7 separate regions of the Homo sapiens genome follow, and all the other regions are linked to region 1. The links are contacts of gene promoters, found by promoter capture Hi-C in blood cells and fetal thymus (Javierre and others, 2016). All regions are on one chromosome and are shown on one strand. Each heading gives the region's core, a stretch centred on a gene start or on the middle of the fragment in contact. The rest is flanking DNA. Distances are from core to core; before and after follow the strand shown. Region 1 holds the start of NUDCD2 (NudC domain containing 2). Region 2 holds the start of GALNT10 (polypeptide N-acetylgalactosaminyltransferase 10). Region 3 overlaps LARP1 (La ribonucleoprotein 1, translational regulator). Region 4 holds the start of FGF18 (fibroblast growth factor 18). Region 5 holds the start of NPM1 (nucleophosmin 1). Region 6 has its middle 3.3 kb from the start of LINC01366. Region 7 holds the start of MED7 (mediator complex subunit 7).

Region 1 (4,428 bases), core at 1,409-3,908:
CACATTTCTATTGCTTTATCTTTCAAAGCTGCAAAGACAAAAAAGACCTAATACAAAAGAGGAAAAGATATCAAGACAAAATTATTTTAATTTGATGAATTATAGTAATTACCCTTACCCAAAGTCCATGTTCCCTCATCAGCTATTGTAGAATCAAAGAGTTTGCCCTGAAAAATAAACATATAAGGTGCTAAAAATACAGAATTTAATTTTTATAAAGTTTTCATGATTAAGATTTACCTACTTTCCTACCTAATCCACATCTTATACCACCACTTCACCATGACATTTATAGGTGCACAACCCTAAATTTTCTCCCAGCAGGTAAAATGGAAACTAGTTTACACTGCAAGGGATATTTACTATGGCAAAGAACACAGAGCTCTCTAAAGAAAGATCAGGGCTCCTTAATTTTTAGAAGATACAGTAATACTGACCACTGGCCAAATGTGAAATTAATATCTGAAATGCTTTAATTCTACCAATTTAAATTAACCACAAGAAGGGATCTCCTGCTAAAACTAAAAAATGTTGTCTTTTTTTTTTTTTTTTTTTTTTTTTTTGAGACAGAGTTTCGCTCTGTCGCCCAGGCTGCAGTGGCACGATCTGGCTCACTGCAACCTCCACCTCCAGGGTTCAAGCGATTCTCCTGCCTCAACCTCCCAAGTAGCTAGGACTACAGGCGCCCGCCACCACGCCCGGCTAATTTTTGTATTTTTAGTAGAGATGGGGTTTCCCCGTGTTAGCCAGGCTGGTCTCGAACTCCTGACCTTGTGATCCGCCCGCCTAGGCCTTCCAAAGTGCCAGGATTACAGGCATGAGCTACCGCACCCGGCAAAATGTTGTTTTTAAAGTAAACTTTTAAAAACGTTTTAATCTTTTTGTTGGGCAATCGGCATTAAAAAAACTTTACGTATTCCAGATTTGATAGATTAGTTGTGACTAACTGTTCACAAACTCATGTTTTTTAAAAAAATAAACAAAATATAAATTTAAAAGAGACTGCACCAGGCCCAGTAGCTCAGGCCTGTAATCCCAGGACTTTGGAGGCCAACGTGGATTGCTTGACCCCATGGGTTTGAGGCTGCTGTGAGCTACAATCTCACCCCTGCACCCCAGCATGGGAGACAGGGACCCTGTCTCAATAAATATATATTTTTTTTTAAAGAGAGAATGCCTAAACTCAAATCCATTTTAATTTGTTGCCAAATTTAAGTTATAGAAAGTGAAATTAAATGTCACTAGGAAAAGCCCACATTTTAAAATATGTCAAAATTAGTGAGAAAAAAATCCCACTGGTCTATACGTACATCAGAAATCCCAAATTCAGCAGCTACTGCTAAATTCCGAAAGTTACTGGATTTACTAATTTATAATCGTAATCTAAAACCATTGTTGAGGAAACTATGAATTGTACAATTCAGAAAAGTAACTGAGATCCAAGCTGACATAATGTCTTTCACACGAATCTTGAGGCACTCAAAGCACCTCCATATACTGTAATATATATAATAGCTAATAGCTAACATATAGTATGAACTTATTACATACCAGTGAATACTCCAAGCTCTTCATACACGTGAATACCATGTTAAGCTCAAAACAATCCCATGAGAAGGGTACTATAACTACCTTATCTTGTGGATAAGGAAGATATAGAGACACTGAACAATCTCTCGCCCAAGTTTACAAAACTAGGAAACAAGTAGTCTCCCTTCACCATATTACACTGCCATCAAACATCTTGGGCATCTAACCTGAGAACTAAATCTAATTTCAACCTGTTAGTTTAATTATACACTTAACAAAGAAAAAGCGGGTCCAGATCCAAAGAGCATTGGTGAAAAGAAATAAAAGGAGTACTACTTATTTTATGCACACACCTCTTCACCACCTGCTTGACCACTCCACAAACATGCAGGATTTTCAAGCTTTTAGATGAGAAAACTAATCACCTGACATCATCTCTAAATTCTCTGCCCGTTATTCTATCCCTATTTTCTTTGTTGTCCTTTCCTATATTTATCTATTTATGAATTACGCTTCCGTACAGGAGCTTAACCTCTCCACTGCAGGTACGTTATCTGTTGTCTTCCTGCCTGTCTTCAGTGCACGGAAGAAATATTTGTTCCTTTAGCAACCTAGTTAATCTGTTCCCAGCTGAAGCCCGTCAGAGAAGCAGAAGCAGCAGTCTTAGTTTGAAAACTAAACACGAAAATAGGCTCCTCAAATTTCCACAACTCAGCACCTGCCCTGAAGAGGCGGGGGCTCTGACCAGACCCAAACCTGGTCAGTGTTATCCTCTTTCTCTTTCTGCCAGCCACAGGAGCCGTCGGGACACCCAACAGTCGTTCAGGGAAACGGGGCTGGGGGCGTCTGGGAAGAGGAAACTGAACACAAGCCCCGAGCTGCCGCTACCTTGAGGATCTCGCGGCCGCCCACCGACAGCGCCACATGCCGGCTCTGGAGGCCGCACTGGATATCCTGGGCGCGCGTGCCTGGCGGCACCTGAACTTCAATGAACACCTCCTCCAAGGTCTGGTACCACTGGCCCCACGGGGTCCCGCACGGTACCACCCCACTCCGCTCCTCAAACGGGGCCGACATAATCCAGTCCCTCCCGGCCGCGGCCGCACCAGGCGGAGCCGAGCGCACGCGCGGAATCCCACGCTTAGGCTACGCCTCGGCCTCTCCGCTCGGGTCACTGCGCATGCGCAGGAACGCAAGCTAGCGCTTTGGTGTGCGTGTTCGTTTTTCCCTTTGAATGGCCGTTTACGGCACCGGCAGGCCCCGGATGAAAGAACTGAAATCCAGAAAAGTTCACATGCAACGAACAATGGGACAGAATTGGAACCAGTGAAGCCGGAACTCACTACACCGTCCCCTAAGTGACGCCAAAATGCACTTTCTAACGTCTCCGGAGGGAAGTGCGCTTGCGCAAATGCTAGGTTACACTTGAGTAACTCCGGGAATGACTGGGTGGGTGGGGCGGGGAACAGTAACGGTCTCCTATTGGATGGCAGCCTAAACTCGCAGGCCAGCTAATTGGACGCAATCAGAACCCAGCATTCTTTCTTCGTGTTCCTGTGCGGGATTGGTGTGCCCAGGGGTTTGGCTTTCCAATTGGCTAACGCCGGGGTGGGTGGGGAATGTGGGGAGATTTGAATTTGAAACCGGTAGGGAGTGATAATCCGCATTCAGTTGTCGAGGAGTGCCAGTCACCTTCAGTTTCTGGAGCTGGCCGTCAACATGTCCTTTCCTAAGGCGCCCTTGAAACGATTCAATGACCCTTCTGGTGCGTAAGGGGGAAAGAGCTGGGGGACGGGAGACGCCCTAACGCCCTTTGCCTCTTTCAGCTCCCTTCTTGGGAGGCAAGCAGGAGGCGATTTTAGGGTCGGGCTGGGGCTCATTCAGTTGATTGATTTTTCTCAAATATGCTCTAAGCATCTGTTACATGCCAAGCACTAATCAGGATGCTAAGGATACCGCAGTGAAACAGTCTCCGCCCCGTGGGGCTTACATTCAGGCGGGGAATACTGTCAATAAACAGCGGTAATGGAGAAACTACAGCAGGGCGAAGGGAATGGACCCGAGACGTTGGTAGCTACTTGATTTTCAAGTCCGAGAGGGCCTCACTGATAAGAACACTGGAGTATTACTTGTAGTCTGAACTTGTGCATTTCTTTTGTGTATTCCATTTGGGCATAAAAGAAGGAAGATTAGTAAAGGCAGTTTATGGGTGTAAAATTAGAGCAGCAGCACTTATTGAAAACATAAACAATGAAGTTATGGCTGATATTGACCACTTATACCTCAAGCACCGTACTAAGGCTTTACATCGATTATTAGTTATGTTAATTTCCCACCAACTCTAAGGGGTAATCCTATTATTATTTTATTGATAAAAAGACTGAGACTTAAATTTGCTCAGTGCTACATTACCAAAGTGACCGGACTGGAATATGAACCCAGCCCCCATCGTGTGCTCTTAACACCGCAATGCACAGCACAGTAACCAGGAAGCCTTAGCTGTGTTTGGTAGGCACTCATCATTTAAGATGCTGTATGCGGCCGGGCGCGGCGGCTCACGCCTGTAATCCCAGCACTTTGGGAGGCCGAGGCAGGTGGATCACGAGGTCAGGAGATCGAGACCACCGTGAAACCCCGTCTGTACTAAAAATACAAAAAAAATTAGCCAGGCGCGGTGGCGGGCGCCTGTAGTCCCAGCTGACTACAGGCTGAGGCAGGAGAATGGCGTGAACCCGGGAGGCGGAGCTTGCGATGAGCCGAGATCGCGCCACTGCACTCCAGCCTGGGCGACAGAGCAAGACTCTGTCTTACAGAAAAAAAAAAAATGCTGTATGCTGGGACTGTGCTACTAGATCTTGTTTATTCCTTCCAAAAGCCAAGTGAGGAAGGTACTGATAT
Region 2 (4,428 bases), core at 1,259-3,758, 9.3 Mb before region 1:
GTACACTTTAAAATAGTTCAAATGATCAGTTTTACAAACGTTTATCACAAAAAAATGTGTTTAAAAAAGACATAGAGTTAGGAGCTAGAAATAGAAAAATGGCCATTCTAGGCAGAGGTAACAACAGGTGCAAAGGTACTGAGGCAGGACTGTGCCTGCCTGAGGGATGCTCTGAGGAACAACAAGGAAGCCAATGTCACTGGGGCACAATAAGGACAGTAAGGAGTGAGAGCTGATCACATATGGGCTTGTAGGGTCCTGTACTTTCTTAGGAACCTAATGAGAGGTGGGAAGCCACTACAGGGATTTGAGCAGAGGGGCGATACAATCTAACCTTGGATAAAACAAGATCATTCTGGCTGCCACATTCTTTTATTTATTTAATTAATTAATTAATTTATTTATTTATTTATTTTTTTGAGATAGAGTCTCGCTCTGTTGCCAGGCTGGAGTGCAGTGGCACGATCTCGGCTCACTGCAACCTCTGCTTCCTGGGTTCAAGCGATTCTCCTGACTCAGCCTCCCAAGTAGCTGGGATTACAGGTGCCCGCCACCACGCCCAGCTAATTTTTGTATTTTTAGTAGAGACAGGGTTTCGCCATGTTGGCCAGGATGGTCTCGATCTCTTGACCTCGTGATCTGCCCGCCTTGGCCTCCCAAAGTGCTGGGATTACATGCATTTTTAAATCTGACTCTCATTCGCCAATGGGTATAAGAAAAGCATGTACCTCACAGGGTAACTGTGAGCATTTAAAGAGGTAATGCATCTCAAGGGCTGCCTGACATAGAGTAAGCACTCAATAAAAGGTAAGCATTATTGTGATGGAAATCTAAAGAAAGAAAACAGTTCCCTGAGGAGGAGTTTTAGAAGGCTTCGTGGAGGAGGTGGCAGTTTAACTAGACACGGAAGGATGAACAAGATTTCCACCGACCTAGAGAAGGGGGTTTTATGGGTAGAAGGAGCTGCGTGGTCAACAGCACAAGAAGGAAAACACAAAGCCTGCAACAGGCTAAGCGAAGCTCAGGGCAGGGCAGGGCAGGGCACGGCAGGAGACAGAACGTTTGATCAGCCCTAGCAGGTCATAGGAGAGGAGCATGATGGACTCTAGAGCCGAGGTGATGGAAGCCTTGAAGGTTTTGCTGCAGAAATCAAGAACTGAGCTGTGATGTCAGAAAACTGAATCCCCATCGCTCAGCCTGGAGCTGGAAGAACTTGGAGGCAAGAGTTGCCAGAACGCTGGTCAAGGACTAGTGGCAGCTAGGCACGAAGGTCAGCGGCTGAGCTAGAGAAGCAGAGAATCAAGAGGACGAATGTGGGGGTGGCAGAGAGTAAGGTAGCCAAGGGGGTGCTCCGTTCCACCGCATCAGGGAGGAGGCAGCTAAGTGACCAGCGTCGAGCGCCCCGAGGAGGAGCCGCTGGCTGGCATCACCGTCGGAGTCCGGCTCCACGGCCCTCCGCATCGCCCAGAAGCCCGACTCCTCTGTCAAAGCCCTCGCCACAGTTACAGACACATTGCCTGGTCTAGTGAAATTACGTGTTTCATGTTTCAGCTCCCAGACGTCAGGGCTCAGGTCTGTTTTCATTTCATCCCAGAGCCTGGCACAGTGTTTGGCACATAGTGGCGCTCGCCAACGGTTTGCTGAGAGCTTTCCGGGAAGGGCTCAGTGCGCTTAGGATCCAAAAGCACGCGTGAGAATGCAGGGCATTCTAACTCCAAGGGGGTTGGACTTGCGTGAGGAAAGGTGCTGCAGAGAGGCTACCGTCACTTACCCACCCGCCGGTTTGCAGGATCTACAGACGGGCGGCGGCCGGGCACAGCTCCCTACAGTTTGCAGAGGGCGTTCACACCTAACGCCAGGGCCCCCCTAGAGGAAGAAAACCAGGGCCCGCCCGCGGAACAGTGAGCGTGCAGCACGGCTGTGGCCCCGTTTCATGGCCGGGAACACCGAGTCGCCGGGGTCAAAGTAGGTCCGCAGGTCCTGGGGGCCGAGCCTAGGTGGGCTGGAAGTGACAGCCCCGGGGGCTCCAGGCTCAGAACGCCCGGCGGGGCCCCAGCACTATTTGCATATCCCCAGGGAGGCAGCAAAGGTTCGGCTGCAGTCCCGGGCGGAGGTTGCCGGGCGGGGCGGCAGGGTACCCGGGCGAGCGGACATGCACCCCACCCAGCGGTGCCCAGCCCGCACCAGTTAGCGCCCAACTCGCCAACTCCGGGACTTTCGCAAAGCTCCAGAGGGCGGGGGAGCCGCCGAGGAGTGGGACGGACCATCGCGGCTCGAGAGGGGGGAAGCGCTCCGGCCCGGCATCCTGCAGCGCCCGGGCGGGCCGAGACGCTCCGTGAGAGGGCCGAGCCTGCAGCGCAGAGACTCGGCGGTCGACGCGGGGGCAGGCGGCGCGGGGCGGGCGGCTCGGCGGGGCCCGGGGGCGGTGGCGGCGGCGACGACCCCCTCGTGGCGGCGGCGTGGTGGCGGCGCCCAGCTCCCCGGCCGGCGAGCGGCGGAAGTGCCGCGGAGTTGGAGCGGGGCCGGCGCCGCAGCCGCTTCTGCTGGCTGAGCTGCTGCCGCCGCCGGGCGGACGGGCGGACGCGCGGAGCTGGGGGCGGCGCGGCGGGGCCGGCGGGGCGCGGCGGGGCTGACCGGCCCCGATGAGGCGGAAGGAGAAGCGGCTCCTGCAGGCGGTGGCGCTGGTGCTGGCGGCCCTGGTCCTCCTGCCCAACGTGGGGCTTTGGGCGCTGTACCGCGAGCGGCAGCCCGACGGCACCCCTGGGGGATCGGGGGCGGCGGTGGCGCCGGCGGCGGGACAGGTGAGTCCCCCCGTTGCTACAGGCCGGGAACACCCCCTTCCCGAATTCACTTTTAGCCTGTGGTTCCTTCCTCCACCTTCTGCTGTCTGCCTCCTCAGAGTCAGCTCCGAGACTCTTCAGCTCTTCCCATTTTCCGGATGGGAAAATTAAGTCCTGTCGGGACTTGTCCAGGGTCCCACGCCAGTCAGAGACTGAGTCCGAACTAGCACTCAGGACGCTATTTCTCACCACATGTTACCACCTTCCTTTCTGTCCCCGTCTGGTATTCCTTGACGTCTTCCAGCGGATCTCTTTTGAAGGATCCTATCTGCATCCCTGTATCCCAGGATGACTCCTGCCTTGTGCCAATAGGAATGAAGATTCTGGTTCTTCTATTTGGTGTCCAGGTCCTCTCTGCTTCCCTCCTCCCACCCCCCCCCCCCCACAACCCCTACCTGCTGATCCCAGTGTTCTTTGCTCAGGTCAGCCCTTTTCCTGATTTCTCATCTGCCCAACGAGACACCCGGGCCTTCCTCCTCTCCCCATTTATTCAACACCCCCGCCCCAACTCTAGCCTTTTCCTTTCTCAGATCCTGTGGATTCCTTGCAGAATGTAAAGATCATGCTCCCTTTAAAGCTTCAAGCCCCTGGGGGTGGAGAAGGGGGTAAGCTCCTGGTCCTTGAGGGACCTGCTGCCTTTGACCTTATGGGAGTCCAGAGGTGGGGCTCTGGTGGGGGGACCCCCAAAATGTCCCAGAGGCTATTGGTGCCCAGTGTCCTGAGGATGGAACACCAGAAGCCTTCCCTATCTCTTCTGAACTTGTCTAGTCTGGTTAGTTGTAGTGTTTATTGCAGCCAAAACTGGGATCGGAATGGTTTCTGCCTCCTTTGAACTTACCCACGTATGTTTGTGTGTATGTGTGCGTGCACGCATTTAGACTAGCAGCTCCCTCATAGCAGAAGCTCTGTCACATCACTCCCACCCTCCCAGGAGGTGCTAGTGAGTGTATTGCTTAGACTGTTTCATATAGTGGAACATTTCAGGCTTTCTTACGGGATTTCTCTGGTCCCATGAGAAGTGGATAATTTGTGTATCAGGGTCAGACTTGACTGACTGTTGGCTGGCCTCGACGAAAGAGGCTGGCTTTTCTGAGATTGATGGTTTTCCTTATTCTTCCCAGTATCAGGCTGCTGTCTAGGCAGTCTGGCATCTGGAGCACAGAGGGCTCTTTGCTACAGAGCTGACCAATTTGAGCTCCGCCTGTAACTCTGTTAATTGCTGCAAAGCATCCCAGAGGGTCTCATTGATCTTTCTGGTAGAGCTTACTGTTTAGAAACTAAGGTTTCCATCTCTTTCCTAAACCCCTGGTTCAAACCCTGACAGCTAGCTTAGACCTCTCTCCCTGAAATTCTGTATCTGTATGGATTTTCCGTTCATGAAATCTCTTTCCTCTGTTCCTATTCAGTACCAGCATCAGAGTCAGGAGTTCCAGGGTTCTGACCTCAGCTCTACCACTAACTTACTGTGTGTGTCCTTGATCACCTTTCATCTCCTTTTCTGAGCCTTACTTTCTTGGTCTGTAAACCATGATTATTGGTCCAGTTCTAACATTCTGTGATACTATCAGTTAATCAATGAGGAATACAA
Region 3 (4,428 bases), core at 1,220-3,719, 8.7 Mb before region 1:
CACCTGCCGTAGCTGGTTGAGGCTAACTGGTTTAAACCATCAAAAATAAAGGGGGAGCTTAATGTCTTCACCGTCAAAGGAGTAGAAGCACTGCTAGTCCTAGGGAAGCCAGAATAGCCAGTCCTGAAAACAGCATGTTGCAATTTTTATTTCTTTTCAGGTTGCTTCATTTGGAGGAGGGGACATTTGGGGTTTACTAACAGTCCTTCATACTGTGTTCTCTTCCTTCCCCCCTGCTCCCCTTCCCCCCTGCTCCCCTTCCCCCCTGCTCCCCTTCCCCCCTGCTCCCCTTCCCCCCTGCTCCCCTTCCCCCCTCCTCCCCTTCCCCCTTCCTCCCCTTCCCCCCTCCTCCCCTTCCCCCCTTTCCCTTCCAGAGCCCTTTTATGCAAAAGACAGTGCTGAAACCTCCGTTTTCTTTCAGTCCCTCCTATCCACCCACAGAGTGAAGGAAAACAACTTTAAAACACTCTTTGGTCCTTCTCCCCTCTTTAAACTCAAAAGGGTATAATCATCCCCGGGAGAGAGCACTCCTTTTAAATGGGGCTACTCATCCTGGCTTGGCTAATGGTGAACCTACCTTGTGGGTTTTAAATCAACCGTGACATCAGGTGGTATTGGGTGCCTGAGCTGGCATTTTGTGTAAGTCCAGGAGCCCTTGATAGTGTGCGTCACTGGGGTTATTGATCGTGGGAAGAAGACAGCTTGGCTGGCATCTCACCTTTTCCTCTGAGTGGAGAAGCTGACTTGCTTTAAGTGCCCAAAGCAAAATTCTGAGTAAGGGTAGATTTGCTCTGTTATTGTTTTTTGGAATCTTAAGGCAAGAGAGTGTCTACTTGTTGGTTTAGAACCTTTGGAATAGGTTTTGACAGCCTAACTCAAGTTAATCCAGTAGCTTCTCTCTCTAAGCCTGTTGTTAGGGTTTGTGTGCATTTTGAGAGAGAATTCTATGATTGGGTTGTCAGTCTGGTAAGGCTAGATGATGACCCTTTCTCTGGAGCCTACGTGGATCTCTGAAGTGCTTTTCCAGCCCTGGTTTTATTTACAGCTTCGACAAATTTAAACGTGACACTAGTGGAGTGGCTGTGTGGTCTTGGGAATTTTTGTGTTCTGTGATGCACATGTTTTTGGGAGTCTACAGAAATGAGTACCTCATAAGCAAACTAAAAGCTTTCCAAAGCTTGCTGTAAATGCCTATTTTTAGCCTTACTTTTGGCTCAAATGTTGGTGTTTTAGTTCTTTAAGGGACACATGCAGTAACTAGTAATAAAATATGTTTCGTGATATCTCTACTTTCTTGTGGGGTTCTGTATTCTGGTTTAAGCGTCCAAGTCTTACATTTGTAGTTTTAAGTCTTGGGATTTGCATTTTGGTTTTTTAGATCTCCCTCCCTCCCCAGAGTATTTTTAAATGTTTAAAATTTTTGTCTTATCCTAGCCATACCCCTTTTAAGTATAAGATCCAAGACGTCTAAGTTAAGAGATGATACATAGCGAATATTCTGGGGTCAAACTGAGTGGGTTCAAATGCCACTGTACCACTTGTTAGCTGTGCTTCCTTGGGCAAGTTATTTAACCATTCTATGCCTCACCTTCTTAATTTGTGTAATAGGTATTTATGATTCACCTGCCTCATGGGGGTATTACCAGCATTCATTGTTATGATAAGTGTATTTAGCCCAGTGCCTGGCAGGTAGACATTGTTACTTACTCTGGGTCTTGGTGGGACTTTTCCCTGGGTCTCTGGTTTTCTCTACCTGTAATATGATGGGGTTGGTGAATGCAGATCTTTCCTTTTCTTGTGTTATATAAGTACTCCGTGAAATGTATGGGATCTGTCTCCTTAAAACTTGACTTTTGCTTATCCACAGACATGAAGGGCATGGATGGATAATTTAAAGGTTGCTGACTCTTAAGAATTAGCTATTTTTTGCTTTGGAATGTGGTGAGATGAATTTTAAAAAAATAAGTTTTAACTTTTTAGTTTGCCTTTTGTAAAGATTTTCTTTGGGGGGAGTTGCACGTGTGCTCTCAGGGATATGAGGAAAAGCCAGCCTAACTGGACTGAAAGTTTGCTGTGGCTGGTGCACATGTAGTGCCGTGAGACTTGAGAGTACAGATAGTCCCCAACTTATGATGGTTCAATTTATGATTTTTTGACTTTATGTTGTTGGGAAAGTGATACACATTTATTGGAAACTGTACTTCAGGTACCCATACAACCATGGTTTTTCACTTTCAGTACAGTATTCAATAAATTAATTACATGAGACATTAAACGCTTAAAATAGGCTTTATGTTAGATGCTATGGCCATCCGTAGGCTAATATAAGTGTTCTGAGTGCATTTAAGATAGGCTGGGCTAAGTTTGTTTGTTTGTTTGTTTGTTTGTTTGTTTGTTTTTTTGGAGACAGTCTGGCTCTGTCGCCCAGATTGGAGTGCAGTGGTGTGATCTCGGCCCACTGCAACCTCCACCTCCCGGGTTCAAGCGATTCTCCTGCCTCAGCCTTGAGAGTAGCTGGGATTACAGGCATGTGCCACCATGCCCGGCTAATTTTGTATTTTTAGTAGAACGGGGTTTCTCCATGTTGGTCAGGCTGGTCTCAAACTCCCGACCTCAGGTGATCCACCTGCCTTGGCCTCCCAAAGTTTTGGGTTGGGATTACAGGCGTGAGCCACCGCGCCCGGCCCTAGGAGCTACTTCTGATCCTGCTCATGACCAGCAATGTGGACACCGGCAAACGCTTTGCTTTCTCTGTGCCTGTTTCTTCGTCTGTAAAATCAGGGTATTAGACTAGGTCTAAATGTCTTAAAATTTTTCTAGTATCAAAAATTTTTTTCTAAAACTCCCTCCCCACAAAAGAAAGAAACCAAAGTAGAGCTTTATATATGTGTAGCTTTGTATTTGCGTTGTGATTAGGAATCCAAGCTCTCTGGAGGCTGGAGAAACTCTTCTGGCTTCAGGAGCCTAAGTCGATGGCTTGGGGGTGTATAATGGAGCAGCCAGACATTATGTGCCTTACAGTGTCTGAAAGCACACAGCACTGCCTGAAAATTTCCTCCACCAAATAAAAACTGAACCTAAATCTAACAGAACCATAGATCCAACTGCCAGTTTATAGGGAAATGGGGCTACAGGAACAGACTAATTAGCCATGAGGTAGGCAGTTATTCAGTTTCTAAATGTGAGAAATTCTACAAGACACACTATTTCCAATAAATAAATGGCATTTTTTAAAGGGAAGAACTGTTACAGATGAAGAAAGTTGAGACATCAGTCGTGCATTGTTGTGGATCTTGTTTGGATCTTGATTCTTGACCAAATGTCCAAAGACATTTTGATGACAACTGAGGAAATTGACTAAGTTAAGAAATTATCTTATTTTGTCAGGGGTGATAATGGTATTATGATTGTTTTTAACTGTGTAACTGGATATATTGTGCACCCCCACCTAAGAACTGTTAGGTTAGTCTATTACATAAGACTTAAGGCTTTTTCCTATTGTGCACTTGATCTTAGCCAAAAGGCCAAGAAGCAATATAGTGTGAATCACTTTCTCTTCTTCTAAGGAAAGGTCACAATTAGGACACCCTTTGAAGGGGAGAGTGGGAGGCAGCTTTCATCGGGAGCCTTCAGCTGGCCTGGCCCCTTTCCTTTTGCACAGGTAGTTTGAGTTTCATACTAACCCGGAAGTGAGTGCCTGCCAGGTAGGGGAAGGTTTTTAGGAAGTGGTTTTTGGCCCTTTGGGAGGTAGAGGGTAGTCACAAGCTTTCTTGAACTCTGAACCTCCTGAGGGTCGGGGTCTTTCTGCTGACCCACCCACTGTCTATAGTGGGACCTGAACTGGAGTAAGCAATCTTAATAGCTGTTACTGAGCACCCATTCTCTTTTCTGGGAGGTGGGCAGGGTGGGAGGAGGAGGAGGAGCAGCCGGCCTGAAACTACAAAACCTCTTTAAGATGGAGAGCTTGGCAGATGGGAGTTCCCCTGTTTGCAAAACCCAAGACAGCTCAAAGGGAGTAATTAGGGTGTTGGGGCCACTGGAGGTTCAGCAGGTGCCTCAGTCCAGACTCAAAAACCTCCCTGGCTGGTCCAGAGTGATCTAAGGGAGTGGCCAGGAGAGAGGATGGCCTTACCTTGCCTGGGATTCAAGAAAGGAAGTAAGTTTTGGTACCTCGCTGGTGAAAACATGGGAAACAGCACATCAATGTGAAGGGAGAAGGTGATGGGATTTAAATTAGAACATGGGCAGGGTACTTCTCTCTGCTCTCACTTTGTGACCTTAGATTGTTTGTCTAACCTGTTTTCCTTATTCACAGAATGGGGCTAATCCCGGTGCTGAGGTTGTTTAGAGCGTCAAATTGCTGTTGAGTATGGGGCAGTACAGTTCATGAATTGAAAAAGTCCTGCTGGGCGCGGGGGTTCACACCTG
Region 4 (4,428 bases), core at 819-3,318, 8.0 Mb after region 1:
GGAGTTTTCATTGTGTGCCAGACACTCATTGAGTACTCACAACTCTGTGAGAGTTGTTACTGTTCTTAGCCATATTTTGTAGAGGAGGAAGCAGAATCTCAAACCGTTGCTTGCTGGAATTTATAAGTAAATGTTGGTGGCAGTATTCAAATGCAGTACTTCTGACTCCTGAGTTTATGCTCTTACTCAGAACTGTTCTCTTGGCTGGACTTTTTGGTCAGTCTGATTTGTTTGGTAGGTGAGATTGGCAAATATACTTTGAGCATTGAAAAATACTGCAAGCATTTTAGATAGGGTATAAATAATTATATACCCATTCCATTCACAAGTAATAAAAAATAGTAACAATATAGAAAATTGGAAGCATGATTCTTAGCCAGGAGATACTTCAAACTAGCAGATGGTAAGCCAAAAACTCCTCGACTGGGTTTGTCAATCTTCCTATAAAGCAAGATCAAAGACGGCGGCAATGACTCGGGTCATCGGTGGGAGCATTTCTGTCCATTTCTATTTATGGTTGGTCATTGCATCCTATCTTGGGATCGATTCATTTTCTCCAGAACTTGGGAAGTTACGAGTAACTCTGCAAGTCCAGCTCTGGCAATCAGAATGTCTAAGTAAATTCAGCTTAAAAGCTTCATGCAGGAATTTTCCCCCTCAGCACCTGGTTTTGAAAAGGTTTTCTGCACTTGTGTCCGATGTTGAAACAGAGGCTATCTGTTTAAAATAGCCTCAGCTTTGAAAGGGAACTTAAAATAGCTTGCAAGGAGGCCTGATATTTGGAACAATTACTAATGTTTTATAGTCATGGCTTCAGCAAATAGCACTGTTCGACAGTCCTACCTCAGTTTATGCTCCAGTGGACCATCAACCATTGCCAACGCAAGGAGGCTTTAACCAAATAGTCCAGATTCCTGAGTTTTGCTTGAGCCTGTCCTCCAGCGTCTTTCTCACTGTGACCTATTTTCCTTAGCATCAGGCTCAAGCAGAGCTTGGCTGACACCAGCTCTAGACAGTGAGGCAGGTACGTGACAAGAACACCTACGTTTTGGGGTTGGTGGGAAGGACAGGAGTTATGCCTCTGGAAGGGGCAGAGGCGGTAAGAACCAGTGTCCTGAATGGGGCCCTGGTTAAAGGAACGAAGCTGCCTAGTATGCAAACGGAGGCAAGTCTTAGTCCGGTTTTGGGAGGAGGCCGGAAGAGGGCCTCAGCGTGGTCGCTGACCAGAGTCCTGCTGGCTGCTCCCCGGCGTGCAGCCGTCCGTGCTGGGGTTGCAGTGACGTCTCGGGGCCGCTTGGTGGTAGCCGTGTGTTTCCAAAGCTGGCTCGCCTACGGGAGAGTCCAGCTGGGATCCCGTGAACCGACCCCAGAGCCCCGGAGGGGGCGAGGGGTGGGAAGGAGAGATGCCCGGGAGCCCCCTTCGCAGCGGCAGGGACGTAAGAAGAGGACGGGGGCTCACTTAAGTGGGTAGCCAGTCAAGAGGGTGGCTGGGAAACTCCACGATCGCAGGGCGGGTAAAAGCGACCCCCATTCAGTGGAGCCGCCCCGGGGCTGGGTTTGACCCGCCCCTCTCGGCTCTCCACTAGAGCGCTGGTGAGTGAGTGCGAGTAGCGAATGTGGGCAGGTGAGGACGTTCCGTACCTAACTGCGTTCTTGGGGAGCATCGCCTGCCCAATTTGGGCAACGTTTGCGCGGAGGAGCGGTCACTGCGCTCGGGCGCAGAGCTCCGACGGCTTCCAGCGCTCACCAGCTTCAGTCTCGCGGGTCCTGCCCCTTTGGAGCTGCCGGTCCCGTCTCCGAGAGTCTGAGCGCCTCCCCTCCAACCCCGAGCCGCCAGGAGAAGGAGGAGGAGGCAGCGAGAGGCCGCGGCAGGCAGGCGAGCAGGCAGGGCCGCCTTTGATGTGGGCTGGGCGCACCCAGGCGAGCTGAGCGCCCGTCCGGCCGCGCCCCGAGGGGGGAGCCCCCAGGCCCCGCATCCTCATTGTGCCGGCTCGGGCCCGGGCCCGCCCCCGGCCCCCCGCCCCCTCGCCGCCCGCGCGTAGAAAACGCCCCGGCCGCCGCCAGTGGTGGGAGGCGGCGATGCGCACGGCCGGAGAGACGCGGAGGAGGAGACATGAGCCGGCGGGCGCCCAGACGGAGCGGCCGTGACGCTTTCGCGCTGCAGCCGCGCGCCCCGACCCCGGAGCGCTGACCCCTGGCCCCACGCAGCTCCGCGCCCGGGCCGGAGAGCGCAACTCGGCTTCCAGACCCGCCGCGCATGCTGTCCCCGGACTGAGCCGGGCAGCCAGCCTCCCACGGACGCCCGGACGGCCGGCCGGCCAGCAGTGAGCGAGCTTCCCCGCACCGGCCAGGCGCCTCCTGCACAGCGGCTGCCGCCCCGCAGCCCCTGCGCCAGCCCGGAGGGCGCAGCGCTCGGGAGGAGCCGCGCGGGGCGCTGATGCCGCAGGGCGCGCCGCGGAGCGCCCCGGAGCAGCAGAGTCTGCAGCAGCAGCAGCCGGCGAGGAGGGAGCAGCAGCAGCGGCGGCGGCGGCGGCGGCGGCGGCGGAGGCGCCCGGTCCCGGCCGCGCGGAGCGGACATGTGCAGGCTGGGCTAGGAGCCGCCGCCTCCCTCCCGCCCAGCGATGTATTCAGCGCCCTCCGCCTGCACTTGCCTGTAAGCGCCCGCGCGCGGGGCTGCCCACCTTGCCTGGCTGTCTGTCCGTATGCCTGTGCCCTGTACCTCTGTCTGCCCGCCCGTCGGTTCACCTGACTCTTCGACTGCGTGTCTGTCTGTCCGTGCGCCCCCTTCCTCAGGTCCCACTGACCGCTTCTCCATCTGTTTCCCGCAGGTGTTTACACTTCCTGCTGCTGTGCTTCCAGGTACAGGTACGTGGGCTCCTGACTTTGACCTCCTCCCGCCCCTGCCTCGCGGTACACGCCGACCCCCCTTCCCCGGCCGCGCCCCCTCCCTGTGCCCCACCCCTCCTGGGCGCTGAGCCCAGTGCACCTGTTCCCAGGGCGCGGAAGGGCGGCTCCGCGTGCGCCCTGCGCCGGCGGGGAACCGGCCAAGGGCAAGGGGCTCTGCCGCGGGGCCCGAGGAGGCGCTGGCTGTCGCGGCCACTGTCGGCCTCGGCTGGGAGGAGATCCCGCAGAGCCGGCGGGCTCAGCCGCAACAATATACCCAGCTCTAAGACCCCTGCCCGCAGCCAGCGAGGGGTAGGACCTAGGGATTTTCTCTGCCAACCTTCCCTTAACATCGCCGCTTCCAAACAAAAAGACTTTCAGCCGAGTGGATTTCGAGTCCAGGGAGAAAGCTTCAGTTGTAAATTACTCTGTGGTTTTGAAGGCGCTTGCAGCACTGAGACACACACACAGACACACACACATGCCCGGGACGAGGGGAAGCTCGAGGGCGCCTAGGCCGAGTGGCCGCTGCCCGCGAGGCCGCTCCCGGATGGGCCGCGCTCCGCACTCCCTCGCCTAAGGTGGTGCAGCCCTCGTTGGTTCCCCGCCTGCTCCCGGTTCGCTCGCTCTCCGTGAATCAGAAGAGGGCTTGGCGCTCGGCCTGGAAAGCACTTGCTAAAATCTGATCTGTTACTTCAGCAGCTTTCAGACTCGGGAAGGTCTTGGCACGCAGACAGTTGGAACGCTCTGGCTTCCAAAGCCGTAGAAATGAAGGAAAAAGGGTTGGGGGGAGGGAGAGAGAAGAGCGAAAAAGGGAGCCGACTTCAGCCCCGATTAGAACCAGACCAGGGCTGCCTCTGCATGGTGGGGGTCGGGGGGCGGCGGGCAAAGGGAATAGGAAGCGTCAGCTCCCCAAGCCCCCACCCACCTAGTGCTGCAAGGGGCCAGGCCAGGAGGAACTGGACACAGGTCAAAAGAGGGTTGTCTGACCCTTCCCCCTCGGTGGAAGGCAGGTGGCTTTCCGGGATTAGAGAAGATTCTTAGACCTTAGCCTTCTGGATTGTGGAGATCCCCAGAGCTAGCCTTGAGCACAGGAAATTGGTGGTTCTCCCGGTTTTCTGGCTCAAGGAGTGTTGTGTGCCTTGAGCACTGCGCGACTCAACAGCCACTCGCAGTGTTTGGCGGTGGTGGGCCTGCTATCTTCCTTCCACGCCCAGGAGAGGGTTGTTACCCTCCTGATAGGCACTGAGCTGGGGGCATCCATTGGGGCTTGGGGATGGAAGGGTGGACGGACTGATGGGTTCTTTCCTCCTGTTGGCCAGGCTGGGGTCCCCAGTGACTCCTTGAATCAATATAACTGGAGTCAGTAACTTAAGACTGGCTGTTTGCCAAAGCAGATGTGACCTGTGTGGTGATGGGGGTGGGGGTGGGGAACGGCTGGTGTCAAAGAGGGAGGCCAGTGCCAGGCATGGCCTGCCTGGTCTGCAGCTGAGTCCCCAAGCAGAGGGCAGGCCCTGGGGTCACTCCAGGGGGTCTGCTTGTCTG
Region 5 (4,428 bases), core at 710-3,209, 7.9 Mb after region 1:
AAAAATTAGCTAGGCGTGGTGGGGGGCGCCTGTAATCCCAGCTACTTGGGAGGCTGAGGCAGGACAATCACTTGAACCCAGGAGGCAAAGGTCACAGTGAGCCAAGATCATAACACTGCACTCCAGCCTGTATGACAGAGCGGGACTTCGGTTTCAAAAAAAAAAAAAATTAAAATAAAAAATAAAACAGTGGCCGGGTGTGGTGACTCACGCCTGTAATCCCAGCACTTTGGGAGGCCAACATGGCGAAACCCTGTTTCTACTAAATATACAACAATTAGCTGGACGCGGTGGCAGGCACCTGTAATCCCAGCTACTTGGGAGGCTGAGGCACGAGAATTGCTGGAACTCAAGAGGCAGAACTCGTGAGTCAGAGATCTTGCCACTGCACTGCAGCCTGGGCAAGAGAGCGAGACCCCGTTTAAAAAAAAAAAAAATGCTGGCTGGGTGCGGTGGCTCACGCCTGAAATCCCAGCACTTTGGAAGGCAGAGACAGGCGGATCACCCGAGGTCAGGAGTTTGAGCCCAGCCTGGAGAACACAGCGAAACCCCATCCCTCCTAAAATACAAAAATTAGTCGGGCGTGGTGGCATGCACCTGTAGTCCTCGCTACTCGGGAGCCCGGGAGGCGGAGGTTGCATCCAGCGGAGATCACGCCACTGCACTCCAGCCTGGACAACACAGCGAGACTCTGTCTCCACACACACACAAAAAAAGGCATAACAAATTTAAGTGACTCAAAGCTTTATGTGACACAGGAGCTCTCAGAAAGGAACAGTTAAATTATAACATGTCCATATTATGCGTTAGTATGTGTCCACAACTAACCCATAATATGGACATGTTATAATTTAACTGTTCATTCCTCTCTTGATAGACACTGAAATCGTCTCTATAATTTTCCTGTAAGAAATAATGCCTTGGGGTGGGGGTGTCTTCCTTTCTGAGGCTATCATTTGTATTCCTCACTTCTTAAATTTGTTTGATATGTTGAGGCTTAAAAAAAAAAGATTACGGGTCTTCAGAACGCCCCAATGCCCGCGGGGTGCTGGGGTGCCTCGGAGTTTGTCAAGGTGTAGCTTAAAACGTTAATTCCCATGCTCGCTCCCAAATATTCGAATTAAGGCTTCTGTAGTTCTTACAAGTCACCCGCTTTCTTTCAGGAGGAATGTTAAAGATTAAGAGCGGCAAGAAGTCAGAGTCGGCCCACCCTCCGAGCTCTCTTAGGGCGATGTCCTTGCTAATTTGGAGACTGATTCAGTCCCCTTTTGGCCCCCAAGTTACGTAAAGATAAGGACTTTGGAGATGTTTTCTCAGGAAGGACAGAGCTGAAAAACAAAGTTCCGTAAGTCTGGCCGGTAACTACATCTTTCCTTCCTAACAAAGAATAAGCCGCAATTCACTCTCTCTGGCACCTGAACTTTGGGGTAACGATTAACTGCGATCCGAAGCCTTCAGGCAAGTAAAAAATTCCTGAAGTGATTACGCCTGTTTGGAGGCTTGCAGGGCACTAGGGGATGGGGAAAGGTGAATCGAGGTGCTCTCTGGCTCATTCGCAGCCGGCTAACCCGCCATATCTTACACAGCTAAGGGCTGCCGACGCCATTTTGCAGGGTGGGCTGCGCAGACTCTTGGCGGGAGGCCGGCGCGCTTGAGCGGGAGAGGACGTGGAAGGGTTGGAGGTGGGGAGTGCGCGTTACGACTGGAAAGCACGCGTGCGCACAGGCGACAGCAGCGGAGGGGTGGGGCCAGTGTACGAGTGCGCGTGCTCGGTGGGAGCCCGCGGAGTACCTGGAAGGAGGTGGGGGCGAGGTAGAAAGGAGTGGGGTTGAAAAGCGCTTGCGCAGGACGGCTACGGTACGGGGGTGGGAGGGCTTCGGAGCACGCGCGCGGAGGCGGGACTTGGGAAGCGCTCGCGAGATCTTCAGGGTCTATATATAAGCGCGGGGAGCCTGCGTCCTTTCCCTGGTGTGATTCCGTCCTGCGCGGTTGTTCTCTGGAGCAGCGTTCTTTTATCTCCGTCCGCCTTCTCTCCTACCTAAGTGCGTGCCGCCACCCGATGGAAGATTCGATGGACATGGACATGAGCCCCCTGAGGCCCCAGAACTATCTTTTCGGTAACTGCTGGGGGGAGCTGGAGCGAGGCCGAGCGGGGCCTGGTGGCGGTGAGGGTGGGGGTGAGGGGCGGGAATCCGGCTGCAACCGGGTCTGGTGGAGACCGCCAGACCGACGGGAGGCCTGAGCGGGTGGGAAGAGCTGCCTGAGCCCTGGACCTGGAGGGATTGGAGCCGCGGGGGGAGCCGGTGGCGTGAAGGGGGAGGAGACGAGCGGCCTGAAGCGTCTGGGGCGTGAGCGGTCCGAGGCCCGGGGCCTGAGGTAAAGTGGAACCGGCCGCCTGGAAGTTCGGCCTTTGCCGGGGATACGTGGCGGAGCTCCAGGCGTGGTTTATTTTCTAACGGCGGTGGTTCATAGGCTTCTGATGCCAGGCCCCGGGTTGGTGGTCCTGGAGGCTGGGTTCACCGGGAAGCATGGGCCTGCTTGTTGGAGCGGGTAGATGCACAGCCTGGCGTTATTCTGGCCTCAGAGCCTGGAGCTGCCGGACGTAGACTTACCTCGCGTGCTTCGGCCAGTTACTGGGGGTGGGGAGGCGCGGCGCGGCGTGAGGAGGCCGCAACCGCTGGGAGCACGTGGTTGCCACGTGGTTGGGGGAGGGAGGGGGGTGTGGGCGCTACATCCGGGACTCACCGGCGTGTTGCCACTCGTGAGCCAGGGATGCTGTGGCTCTGTTGAAGTGGGAAATGTTAAGAGGCTGGTAGCACTAGGGTTCTGGAGGTCTTTGTTCAGTGCTTACAGCATGTACTGTGATGGCAGCTCTCATTTTTTTGAGCCCCTTTTCTGTCTCACTGCGGTAGGTGGAGCTAGCCCCACTTTGCAGATGAGGATACTGGTGCCCAGAGATAAACTCACTTAACGAAGGTTGTACTTAGTAAAGGCAATAAGAGACTAAATCTAAACCAAGACGCTTGACTCCGTAGCTGCTGCTTCGTGAATATTAATGAGGCTTCGTTTTAGGGGGACGTCCTCGCATGCCGCCATTTGTGCGGCATTGACCAAACTGCTTTTCTAAATACAAGAAACACGTAGAGTGTTCGGTTTGAGTCAGATCAAGACCTAAGACTATTCGCAGAATTTTGGGAGCACCACCCCCCTCGACTTGCGGTAGTCCTGCCCCAAAAAGGAGAGTCCCACTTGGGTTTTTGATCTCAGTAGGATTAATTGCAGAAGCCTAATCTTTGTACTATTCAGACTTTGAAGTAAATGCAAATCCTACCGTGAATTTTATCTTGTTCATTATCCGTGCTGAGATTTGTTAATTAAACGTCTGTTCACATTTAAGCATGTATATGTATTGGTAACGGTTAGATGATAGTTAAATGGAATCATTTAAAATTTTTATTCTGACAGTGTTTTGAAGAATTTTGCCCATTCATGGAGTGAGAGTAGACATATGTATTCAAAACATTAAGGCTTTAATTCCTAGTTATTTTGGATAGCTGAGAATTCTGGTAAATTTATATCAGTACTTTTTGATAACTATCGGAAAGAACCCTCCTTGTCTTAAACATAATTTCTGAATATAGTTTGAGGCGTATGTCACTTTCTGTTGCTTTAAAGAGTGGAGTGTTGATCCCTGTAGCAAACTTCGGTTCTTTTACTTTTGTCATTTTTCTTTTGTAATAGTAAGCTATTCATGTTTGTAACCGTTCTCATTTCGAAATTGCCATTTGGGAATTTAGGTAGGTAAATCAGCTGTTTTAAATAGTGGGAAACTTAACATTGGACATTACATTTGGTTTCAGATAATTGCTTCAGGTTGAGATTTACTAAACCATTGAGCTTGTTTATGCAGAATAACAGTACCTATCAGCGTAGTTAGAGATGAAATATGGTATGATGAGAGAATGGAATTATAGTCTTTTATGGGTGTCTGTAGAGGTTTCTGTTCAAGAAATCTAGGAATTGATCATTCTGCTTTGCCCTCTGGTAGCTAAAATAGTGAAAAACTAGTTCAAAAGTTAGACCTGACCTTTTTGGTTACCCACACTTAAGTTTCAGTGTTATTTTTCTCCTTGTTAGAGTTGCTTTTTTCTTCATTTACAGGTTGTGAACTAAAGGCCGACAAAGATTATCACTTTAAGGTGGATAATGATGAAAATGAGCACCAGTTATCTTTAAGAACGGTACTTAAACTTTCAAAATAAACTACTTAACCCTACTTGATTTCAGCCTTTTAGTTTCTATTCATGTGGCTTGAGACTTTTTTTCCTTTGCTGACTGCTTATAAAATACTATTTCTTACACCTGGGTATTGTGTGTACCTCACTGTCTGTACATCTTTGAAGAACTTGGCATCTATACCACTCATTT
Region 6 (4,428 bases), core at 1,159-3,658, 6.9 Mb after region 1:
GACTTTTTGTGGGTGATTCTGACTCCAGTGGAGGCCCAGGAGGCAGAACCCAGAAACTGTGTACAACCTAAAAAGAATTGACATTTGGTTTGAGGACCAGATGAGGCGCAGAAACAAAGTGCCTTAGCATATGTGTTGCCTGCAACAAAATAATATAAATCTGCAAACTTATTTTTAAACGTCTAAAAAAGTAAGATGAATTGATGGATGGGTAAAGGAATAGCTAATTGATGGATAGATACGTGATTAAAAAAAATACAAATTTACACCCTCAAGGAGGTGACGCGTAATTCCTCATTAAGTTTTTTGAACTGTGGGATGCACCTAGTAACTTCCTTTCAAAAAGTACACATGGAAAGGAAGGAAAAAGTGTAACTTCACAGTGGAGAACCTGACCAGCACTACCTCAGCCAGGTGATCAAGGTCAACAAGAGCGATGACATGTGGACAGTGTGTATCCTTGATATGAGATGAGAAAAGCACTTTACCTCTGCGGTCTTTCTTCTAAAAATCCACATCCACAGTGTAATTGCCAGAAAATCATCAGACAAATCCCAACTGAGGGACATTCTATGAAATACCTTGTAAGTACACCTCCAAGGTCAGGAGTTGAAGACCACCCTGGCCAACATGGTGAAATCCTGTCTCTACTAAAAATACAAAAAATTAGCCAGGCCTGGTGGCATGTGCCTGTAATCCCAGCTACTCAGGAGGCAGAGGCAGAAGAATTGCTTTAACCTGGGAGGCGGAGGTTGCAGTGAGCTGAGATCGCACCACTTAAAGTATGGATTTTAGTTAATAACACACCAATATTAGTTAATTAGTTATTACAAATGTATCATACTAATATAAGATTTTAATAATAAGGGAAACAGGCTAGGAAGTATATGGGAACTCTGTACTTTTGTAATTTTCCTTTTTGTAGTTAAAAGGTTTATTTAAATAAACAAGCTTAGTAAAACATTAATGGTTGAACCAAGGTTGTGTGTATATTGGTGTTAATCGTAAGATTCTTTCAACTTCATTGTAAGTTTGAAATGATTCATAACTTTATTTATTAGCTAGCATTTATTTGTAAGTTGAAACTTCAGGGTAGGAAGATCCTGAAATGCTTCAAGCACCTACAAGCAAACAAAGGTTTGCAAATTAAAATTAACGGTAGAGCACTAACAAAGATGTGCAAATTGCCTCTGAGGTTGTTTTTACTCGGTATGCTTTGTTCACTGCTTTATATTAATCGAAGTAAAACAATTTGTAGGGATATTAATAACTTTACCATCAACTCGGGTTCCTCTAACCCTAATATTCCCTTGAGATTTTAAGTTTCGTAATCATAATTTGTCCTAAGTGCCCACGGTGTGGGAGAAGCTGTGTATTTATGTTTCTGCAGATGATCTATCCTCCTACTTCACAGCAACAAACCTGAGGCTATCAGGCATAACTGCCCCATTTCCTGTCCTCCTACCTAGAAGCTTATTTATAACCTTCCCACCCTTGCCCCCTTCCTTCGAGACTCAGAGAGCAGTTCAGGGTTGGCCACTTATTGTGTCACTTGTTCCTCCCCTTCCTAATTCTTTCAAGGCATTCACTTTTTTTTTAATCAATTATTTTATTTCTTCCTCAAATTGTTAAACTTTACACACCAACTCTTCATCACAGCCCCCAAAGCCTGTGAATCTCATCTTTAAACAGTGAATCATGTCCTCCCAAAGCAAAACAAATCAACCACCCTAACACCTTCTCTCTGCCTCTGTTCTCCTCTGCCTCTTGCCTCCTGTCTTTTCCCAAAGCCAAGGTTCTGCAGAAGACCATCTACACCTGTCGTCTGCATGGGACTTTCATTCCTCAGTACCCAACTCTCCACCGAGAGCCCTCTGACAAGGTCACTGAGATGTCCCCAAAACCCATGCCAGCAGCCTCTTGTGGTCACCTTCTTGCTAGACTTTTAGCAGCAGGTGACACCCATGACTGAGTGTCTGCTTGGTATTCTCCCCTCCCCTGGCTTCCAGGACCCCTTTGGCTAGTCCTCGTCAGCCTCCTTTGCTGGTTCCTCTTCCTCTGCTCACCCTGATAAATATCAGAGCTCTGTCCTTGGTCTTCCTCATATCAAGCCCTAATACACTCTTGCTACACAATCCAACTCCCCCCAAGGCCACCCTCAACTCCAGTGACTCTCAGATATACACTGCCCCACAGAATACCAAAAGCCAACACGCAACTTGTTTTCAACACTCACTATGTGCTAGGCACTGTTCTAAGCATTTGACCTATGTTGTCTCATCTAATCTTTACAACCCTATCAGGGTGTACTATCATTAACATCCCATTTTACTGAGCACAGAGCTCAAACAACTTGCCCATGTCCACACAGCATGAAGCCAGGATTCAAGCCCTGTCCCACACTGTGCTCCTTGCAGAACATCTCCACCTCAAGGTTTTTCATCCACCTCTAACCTACCATGCCCCAAATGGAATTCACAATCCAAATGGAATCCTTTCCCCCAAACTGTTCTCCTTGTATTTCCAGGGGAAGATCCAGGCTTGGTGGAGCCTGAGGATTCTATAATTGGCCAGGAAGGGGCTCTTTAGGAAAAAATAAATAAAAAGAAAACAATGAATACAAGAGTAGGTTTAGGACCTTGATAGTGGATGTGAAAGGGAGGGATTCTCGCACATAACCTTCATTAGCTTCATGGTGAACCCCACCCCATACATTTTGTATTCCAGTGGCTAGCATCTAGTCATTCCAGCAGGGGCATGGAAAATTCTTCTCTTTATATTCCCTCCCTCTTCCCTTCTTCATCCATATGGAACCATGGATAGCACTCTAGTTCTACCTTCCTCAAGTCTCTAGAATCCCTCTTTACCTTTTCACGTACACTATCCTGATTAGCTCAGGTCCTCAACATCCCACACTCGGACCATAGCCATAGTCCACTCTGTCTATTCCTGCCACTTCCTGGACTTTCCCCAACACAGTTCCTGTGCTTAGCAGGGTGACCATCAGAAACATGCATCTCATCAACCCTTCTGTGATGGTCCATTTTCCTCTGACTAGCATCTACATTCCTTAGCCCAGCAGTACCCAGCACAGGTCAATCTTGCCAGCTTTACTTTTCCCTGTGCTCTCCTTTTGTTCCTTTCTTCAACAAATAATTATTGAGGACCTATTCTTGAGTACTATTATGAAGTGCCAATAGTAGGGTAATTGAATGCTAAACACTGAATATGCAGTAGCAATCAAGACCAGATCTTTCACACCTCTTGTCCCATCACACCAAATAGCTTGCAGTTTTTAGACTCTAAGACTGTGTTCAGCTTCTTTCCCTTTTCCTAGGCTGCAGGGAAGCTTTTAAATTCATTGATTACCTGAATAATAACCACTTATCCTTCGTGGATCAGATACAGTGTTATCTCCCATATAGAGCATTTTCTGATCACCCTCCAGCAGCAAAAATGGATCCCTTCCTCATTTCTATCCCAAATGTGCTTTTGAGATCTGATATTCCCTCAGAACACCTAATATACTTTGATGCAACTACTTGACTATTGAGAAGGTCTCCCTCATTTCAAAGCAAACATTTGGATCAAAGAGACATCATTTTATTCATCTCTACATCCTCACTGGAACCTGCCATATAGTAGACACCATACATTCATACATACGTACATTCACCAACTCATTCATCTTCATCCATCCATCCATCTACCCATCCATCCATTCATCTATCTACTCACTAATCCATCTACCTACTCACCCATCCAACCATCCATCTACTCTTTCATCCATCTACCTACCCACTTGTCCATTTAACCATCTACTCATCCATCTACCCACCCACCTGTCCATCCATCTACCATTTTATTCATTTACCTACCCATCCGTCCATCCATCCATCTACTCATCCATCTACCCATCCACCTGTCCATCTACCCACTCACTCATCCGTCTACTCACCCACCTGTTTATCCATCCATCTACCCACCCACCTATCCATCCAACAAATATTTCTGAATGTCCTCAATGTCCCAGCCATTTCTCCAGACTCTTTGGATATAGAGAAGAACAAGAAAGAAGAGGCCTCTGCTCTCACTAGCCCTACATTCTAGTGTCTGTTGCAGGGTCAGTGAGGGGTGGGTAGGGGGTCACAGACTACGGAAATAAACAAAGTAGGTGAGTGAGAAGTACTGTAAAGTAAATTAACAGAGCAATATCCCAGAGGGTACTACTTTAAAAGGAATGGTCAGGTCACCTTACAAGAAGGTGGCCTTTGTGATGAGTCCCAAATGATAAGAAAGGAAGCAGCCAAACAAAGAGAGACAGAAAGTCCTGATGTGGGAATGAGCTTTGTGTGTTTGAGGAACAGAAAAGAACAGAGTAAGCAGAGGAGAGGACAGAGATGAAGGCAGGGAAGTTAGGGAAAGTGT
Region 7 (4,428 bases), core at 908-3,407, 6.3 Mb before region 1:
ATTTTTGTATATTTTGTAGAGACAGAGTTTTGCCATGTTACTCAGGCTTGTTTCAAACTCCTGAGCTCAAGCAATCCTCCTGCCTTGGCCTCCCAAAGTGCTGGGATTACAGGCGTGAGCCACCACACCCAGACATTTTAAAACTTTTAACATAAATTCAGATTACAGAAAAAGTGCATGAATACACAAAAAACACTTCATATTCTTCACTCAGATTCTCCAAATGTTAACATTTTCCTTCATTTGCTTTATTGGTTTTTCATTCCTTTACCCCTGAATACTTCAGTGTGTTTTCTCGTGACAAGAATGTTTTCTTCTACCCAAAGCACAATTACCAAAATCAAAGAATTAACAGTGATCTGGTACTTCAAAATACATTTTTTTTTTCCCTGAGACAGTGTCTCGCTCTGTCACCCAGGTTGGAGTGCAGTGGCACGATCTCGGCTCACTGCAAGCTCGGACTCCCGGGTTCACGCCATTCTCCTGCCTCAGCCGCCTGAGTAGCTAGGACTACAGGCGCCCGCCACGACGCCCGGCTAATGTTTTCTATTTTCAGTAGAGACGAGATTTCATCGTGTTAGCCAGGATGGTCTCGATCTCCTGACCTCGTGTTCCACCTGCCTCGACCTCCCAAAGTTCTGGGATTACAGGCGTGAGCCACCGTGCCCGGCAGAAAATACAATTTTTGACAGCTCACGTTTCATCCCACTCAAACCTTTTTAGGTGAGGAGTGCTGCTCTGTACTTTCCTACACGATGTGCATTCCTGTATTGCGGCTGCCATTTTCCTAAGGCCAACTACATGACAGGTACCATTTTTTATGGCCTCTGTAACATAATCTTCATTAACAATTCTATGAATTAAGGTTTTTGGGGTTTTTGTTGTTAGTTTTGTTTTTTGAGACAAGGGCTCAATCTGTCTCCCAGGCTGGAGTGCAGTGGTACCATCAGGGCTCACTGCAACCTCTGCCTCCCGGGTTCAAGGGATTCTCCTGCCTGAGCCTCCTGAGTAGCTGGGGACTACAGGTGCGCACCACCACGCCCAGCTAATTTTTGTATTTCTCGGTAAAGACAGGTTTTCACCATGTTGGCCAGGCTGGTCTGGAACTCCTGACCTCAAGTGATCCGCCCACCTCGGCCTCCCAAAGTGCTGGGATTACAGGCGTGAGCCACCACACGGTCCCACGAATTAAGTTCTATTATCAATTTCATTTTAGAAGTGAGGATCCGAAGTCTCAATGAGGGGAAGTGTTGCCCCAGATCAAAAGGTTAATAAATGGCACAACAGGAATTCTTATCCCAGGTCCCTTTAGCTCCAAAGGGCAAGCTCTCTTATATCCCTAAGCCGAGAAGCATCTAACTGTACAATAAGGACTGGCATATCACAAAAATTATATTTCTTTCTCTACTGTCTCTCTAGATGGAACTTTTCAAAGGTGATGGAGGTCTTATTTTTAATAAAAGCAGAGCCAAGCATCAGAGCTGGTTCTTAACTCAAGATCCAACATCTAGTGTTTGTTCTACTGGGGGAGAAGGAGCTTCACCAGAAGACGACAGACATTCCAGGGTCCCAGCCCCAGAGATTTGATTCATTCTGTCTACTGTGAATGGGCCCTAGAATGTCGCTTTTAAAACCTCTCCAGATGGACCTGACGATTAGGCTTGGGATCTACCGCCCTCGCCTGCCCCCATACCTCAGCTGTTTCATAACTGCTCCCAGAAGAAGGAAGGGCAGGGAGGGCTACTCTCATGTTACAAAGAGCCGGAGAGGGCAAATGACTCGCCCAAGGCCACACAGCTTAGAAAAACAGCGGCGCGGGGACTAGACGCCAGGTCTCCCAACCTCCACTCCGGCTCGGCGTCCCAACACGGAGGAAGCCCCGAGACTGCCACGCTTAGAGCCCCCTCCTCCAGGCTGTCCACCCCGAGGCCTCCGCGCTCTCGGAGAGACCGCACTCTCGGAGAGACTCGGGAGAGAAAGACGAAAGACCGCCTTTGGAGGCCGAACTCAGCCATGCCTCCCCAGTTCCCAGCCCAGCACAGAGGAAGCTGCGGGGTCCGGAAGAAAAAAACGCACACAGGCGGCGGCCCCAAACCGTTGCCGCCCACTTACCTCAGCTCTGGCTTTACACTGGTAGCCGCCTTCCCCTCTGCAGCCGAAACCAACTTCCGGTCTCCTCCGGGAAGAAGCCACCGACTCTGTCCTTGATTGGCTGTAAGAGCTGTCCTTTAACGAAATTCTAGCTCCGCCTCAGACCGATCCCTCGCTGTTGCGCCTACGTATGTTTGACTCCTCCCATCCACCCGTTACTGACTTTTAAAAGTCGTAGCTGAGGGTTCCGTTTCTTCGTTTCTTTTTGAATTAAGGCATAAAATTGAACAAGACACCTTATTGCTTTATTTTTTATAGACCCCTTATTGACCAGAAACAATCTTATGTTTTAATGTTTAACATGCTCTTGTAAGACTTAACGTGAATTTAGAAATTTATGACACGAAAATAACCTCCAAAAGAAACGCTTGCTATTGCGCCTGCGTATATTCCACCCCCTTCCCCATTACCACTCTTTTACTGACTTAGTCGCTGCTGGTAGTTCCATTCCTTTTGTCCTTTTTTAATTTAACGCATACAATTAAGACGTCTTACATACAAATTCGAAAATATAGACATGCAGGGTTTTTTTGTTGTTTTTTTCTTTGAGACGGAGTCTTTCTCTTTCGCCCAGGCTGGACTGCAGTGGCGCGATTTCGGCTCGCTGCAACTTCAGTCTCCGGGATTCAAGCGATTCTCGTGCCTCAGCCTCCCGAATAGTTGGGGTTTCACCTATTTTTTTTTCTTTTTTTTGTATTTTTGGTAGAGACAGGGTTTCACCGTGTTGGCGAGGCTCATCTCGAGCTCTTGATATGAAGTGATCCGCCCGCCTCGGCCACCCAAAGTGCTGGGATTGTAGGCGTGAACCACCACTTCCGGACTCCCCCATTTTAAATCCCTCGCACGTATCAATTTATTTCCTGAAGAAATCCATCTACGTTGAGCATAACCCAATCCAGCTTTTCTCCTCACCGCTGACCCCAATGTATCCTGCACCAGTGACTTCCAATGGTCGTTCCCAGTCCTCATTTTACTCCATCTGTCAGCAGCATTTGGCACATTTGATTAATGGATTGCCCCAGGACTCAGTTCTCCAACCACTTCTCAGTCAGATATCAGCTGGATGATTACATGCAGGCCCTGGAACACCGTTTCCTCTGCACTTCAGACCCTCATATCCAGTGGTGACAGACATCTTTCCCCAGTTGCACTTTACTCAATTGCAAATGTTCAATCGAAGGAATCACCTTTTTCTCCTTTCTCACATACCCCACCGAAACTACCATACCAGCCTTTTGCATTAGATCTATTTAAAAATAAGTAAATAAAGTTCCAAATATGACTGACCACCGTTCCCACTGCTATGGTCCTATGCCATGCCACCATTATCTCTCACCTGGACTTCTTTGATTTTTTGTCCTCCCTTAGTCTATTTACCACACCTTCTTAAAATATAAGACCGGTCTTATCACTCCTCTATTCAAAATCCTCCAAGGCTTTCTATGACTTTTAGAATAAAATCTGACATCCTTCCCCTGGCCTATATCACAGGCCCTACAAAATTGCCAAGTACATCCCGGCCTTGGGGCCAATGCATTTGCCTGGAACTCTTTGCACAGATATTGACACGTCTCATTTCCTTCTTTCCTTTTTTTTTTTTTTTTTTTTTTTTTTTTTTTTGAGACGAAGTCTTGCTCTGTCACCCAGGCTGGAGTGCAGTGGCCCAATCTCGGCTCACTGCAAGCTCCACCTCCCAGGTTCACGCCATTCTCCTGCCTCAGCCTCCCCAGCAGCTGGGACTAGAGGCACACGCCATCACGCCCAGCTAATTTTTTTGTATTTTTAGTAGAGACGGGGTTTCACCGTGTTAGCCAGGATGGTCTGAATCTCCTGACCTCGTGATCCGCCCGCCTCGGCCTCCCAAAGTGCTGGGATTATAGGCGTGAGCCACCGCGCCCGGCTTCATTTCCTCAATTCATTCAGGTTTCTGGTCAAATGTGACTTCAAAGAGTTCTTCTGGGGTTACACTACTCTATGCAAAATAGCGCATCCCTAATCTTTCTCTTGGGAGATGCCCCTGAAACCCTTACTATGTATTATCTTTTTTTCATAGAACCTCTCATCATCTGAAATCATCTTACATAGTATATTTATGTATTTTATTGCCTTTCTTATCCATCAAAAATATCAGGTTTATGAGCATGGGACCTTTGTTTCATTTACTGCTGTTGTGTTTGAACCTACATACAACGGTGCCTGAAATTGGCAAATACTCAATAAGTGTTTATTGAATAAGAAACAAAATGAATACAATCATCACTTTCAAATAAATTCATA

What was found. Contacts are between HindIII fragments. The CHiCAGO score rates a contact against its expected background, and 5 or more counts as called.
Region 2: the fragment with the promoter of GALNT10 here is called in contact with the fragment with the promoter of NUDCD2 in region 1 in 1 of 17 cell types (total CD4 T cells); the score reaches 8.9 in total CD4 T cells.
Region 3: a fragment that was not itself captured here is called in contact with the fragment with the promoter of NUDCD2 in region 1 in 2 of 17 cell types (total CD4 T cells and naive CD4 T cells); the score reaches 6.1 in total CD4 T cells.
Region 4: the fragment with the promoter of FGF18 here is called in contact with the fragment with the promoter of NUDCD2 in region 1 in 1 of 17 cell types (naive CD8 T cells); the score reaches 5.6 in naive CD8 T cells.
Region 5: the fragment with the promoter of NPM1 here is called in contact with the fragment with the promoter of NUDCD2 in region 1 in 2 of 17 cell types (activated CD4 T cells and naive CD4 T cells); the score reaches 6.6 in activated CD4 T cells.
Region 6: a fragment that was not itself captured here is called in contact with the fragment with the promoter of NUDCD2 in region 1 in 2 of 17 cell types (total CD4 T cells and activated CD4 T cells); the score reaches 8.4 in total CD4 T cells.
Region 7: a contact is called between the fragment with the promoter of MED7 here and the fragment with the promoter of NUDCD2 in region 1, in 3 of 17 cell types (naive CD8 T cells, naive CD4 T cells and erythroblasts). The highest score is 12.4, in naive CD8 T cells.

Annotation. Positions count from the first base shown.
Region 1 is chr5:163,457,444-163,461,871 of GRCh38, forward strand. It overlaps NUDCD2 (NudC domain containing 2), which reads right to left and starts at 2,659. Exons shown (of 4, transcript NM_145266.6): 1 at 2,419-2,659; 2 at 119-167. The coding sequence starts at 2,607. It overlaps HMMR (hyaluronan mediated motility receptor), which reads left to right and starts at 3,189. Exons shown (of 18, transcript NM_001142556.2): 1 at 3,189-3,295. The coding sequence starts at 3,250. It also overlaps a transcript of CCNG1 not described here. RefSeq lists enhancers at 2,376-2,625, 3,376-3,435 and a silencer at 2,956-3,045. The HindIII fragment of the contact is 3,644 bases long and covers 1,930-4,428 here.
Region 2 is chr5:154,188,225-154,192,652 of GRCh38, forward strand. It overlaps GALNT10 (polypeptide N-acetylgalactosaminyltransferase 10), which reads left to right and starts at 2,509. Exons shown (of 12, transcript NM_198321.4): 1 at 2,509-2,801. The coding sequence starts at 2,643. It overlaps LOC124901118 (a long non-coding RNA gene), which reads right to left and starts at 1,855. Exons shown (of 2, transcript XR_007059010.1): 1 at 1,772-1,855. RefSeq lists an enhancer at 919-1,884 and silencers at 2,105-2,194, 2,285-2,384, 2,395-2,504, 2,595-2,674, 2,745-2,804. The HindIII fragment of the contact is 10,101 bases long and covers 1-3,415 here.
Region 3 is chr5:154,757,557-154,761,984 of GRCh38, forward strand. All of the region lies in intron 1 of LARP1 (La ribonucleoprotein 1, translational regulator), which reads left to right. Among named protein-coding and RNA genes, the nearest start is that of LARP1, 4.4 kb to the left of the region's middle. RefSeq lists a silencer at 511-700 and an enhancer at 3,537-3,646. The HindIII fragment of the contact is 2,588 bases long and covers 1,176-3,763 here.
Region 4 is chr5:171,417,579-171,422,006 of GRCh38, forward strand. FGF18 (fibroblast growth factor 18) reads left to right here and starts at 2,069. Exons shown (of 5, transcript NM_003862.3): 1 at 2,069-2,653; 2 at 2,829-2,865. The coding sequence starts at 2,622. RefSeq lists silencers at 1,906-2,015, 2,136-2,245, 2,386-2,435, 2,496-2,575. The HindIII fragment of the contact is 2,658 bases long and covers 634-3,291 here.
Region 5 is chr5:171,385,890-171,390,317 of GRCh38, forward strand. It overlaps NPM1 (nucleophosmin 1), which reads left to right and starts at 1,960. Exons shown (of 11, transcript NM_002520.7): 1 at 1,960-2,117; 2 at 4,162-4,241. The coding sequence starts at 2,060. It overlaps MIR3912 (microRNA 3912), which reads right to left and starts at 871; the gene lies at 767-871. RefSeq lists silencers at 2,241-2,300, 2,621-2,680. The HindIII fragment of the contact is 7,200 bases long and covers 742-4,428 here.
Region 6 is chr5:170,325,921-170,330,348 of GRCh38, forward strand. No RefSeq gene overlaps it. Among named protein-coding and RNA genes, the nearest start is that of LINC01366, 3.3 kb to the right of the region's middle. RefSeq lists an enhancer at 1,910-2,009. The HindIII fragment of the contact is 1,877 bases long and covers 1,471-3,347 here.
Region 7 is chr5:157,140,708-157,145,135 of GRCh38, forward strand. MED7 (mediator complex subunit 7) reads right to left here and starts at 2,158. Exons shown (of 2, transcript NM_004270.5): 1 at 2,113-2,158. RefSeq lists enhancers at 1,826-1,875, 2,686-2,785. The HindIII fragment of the contact is 9,177 bases long and covers 1-4,428 here.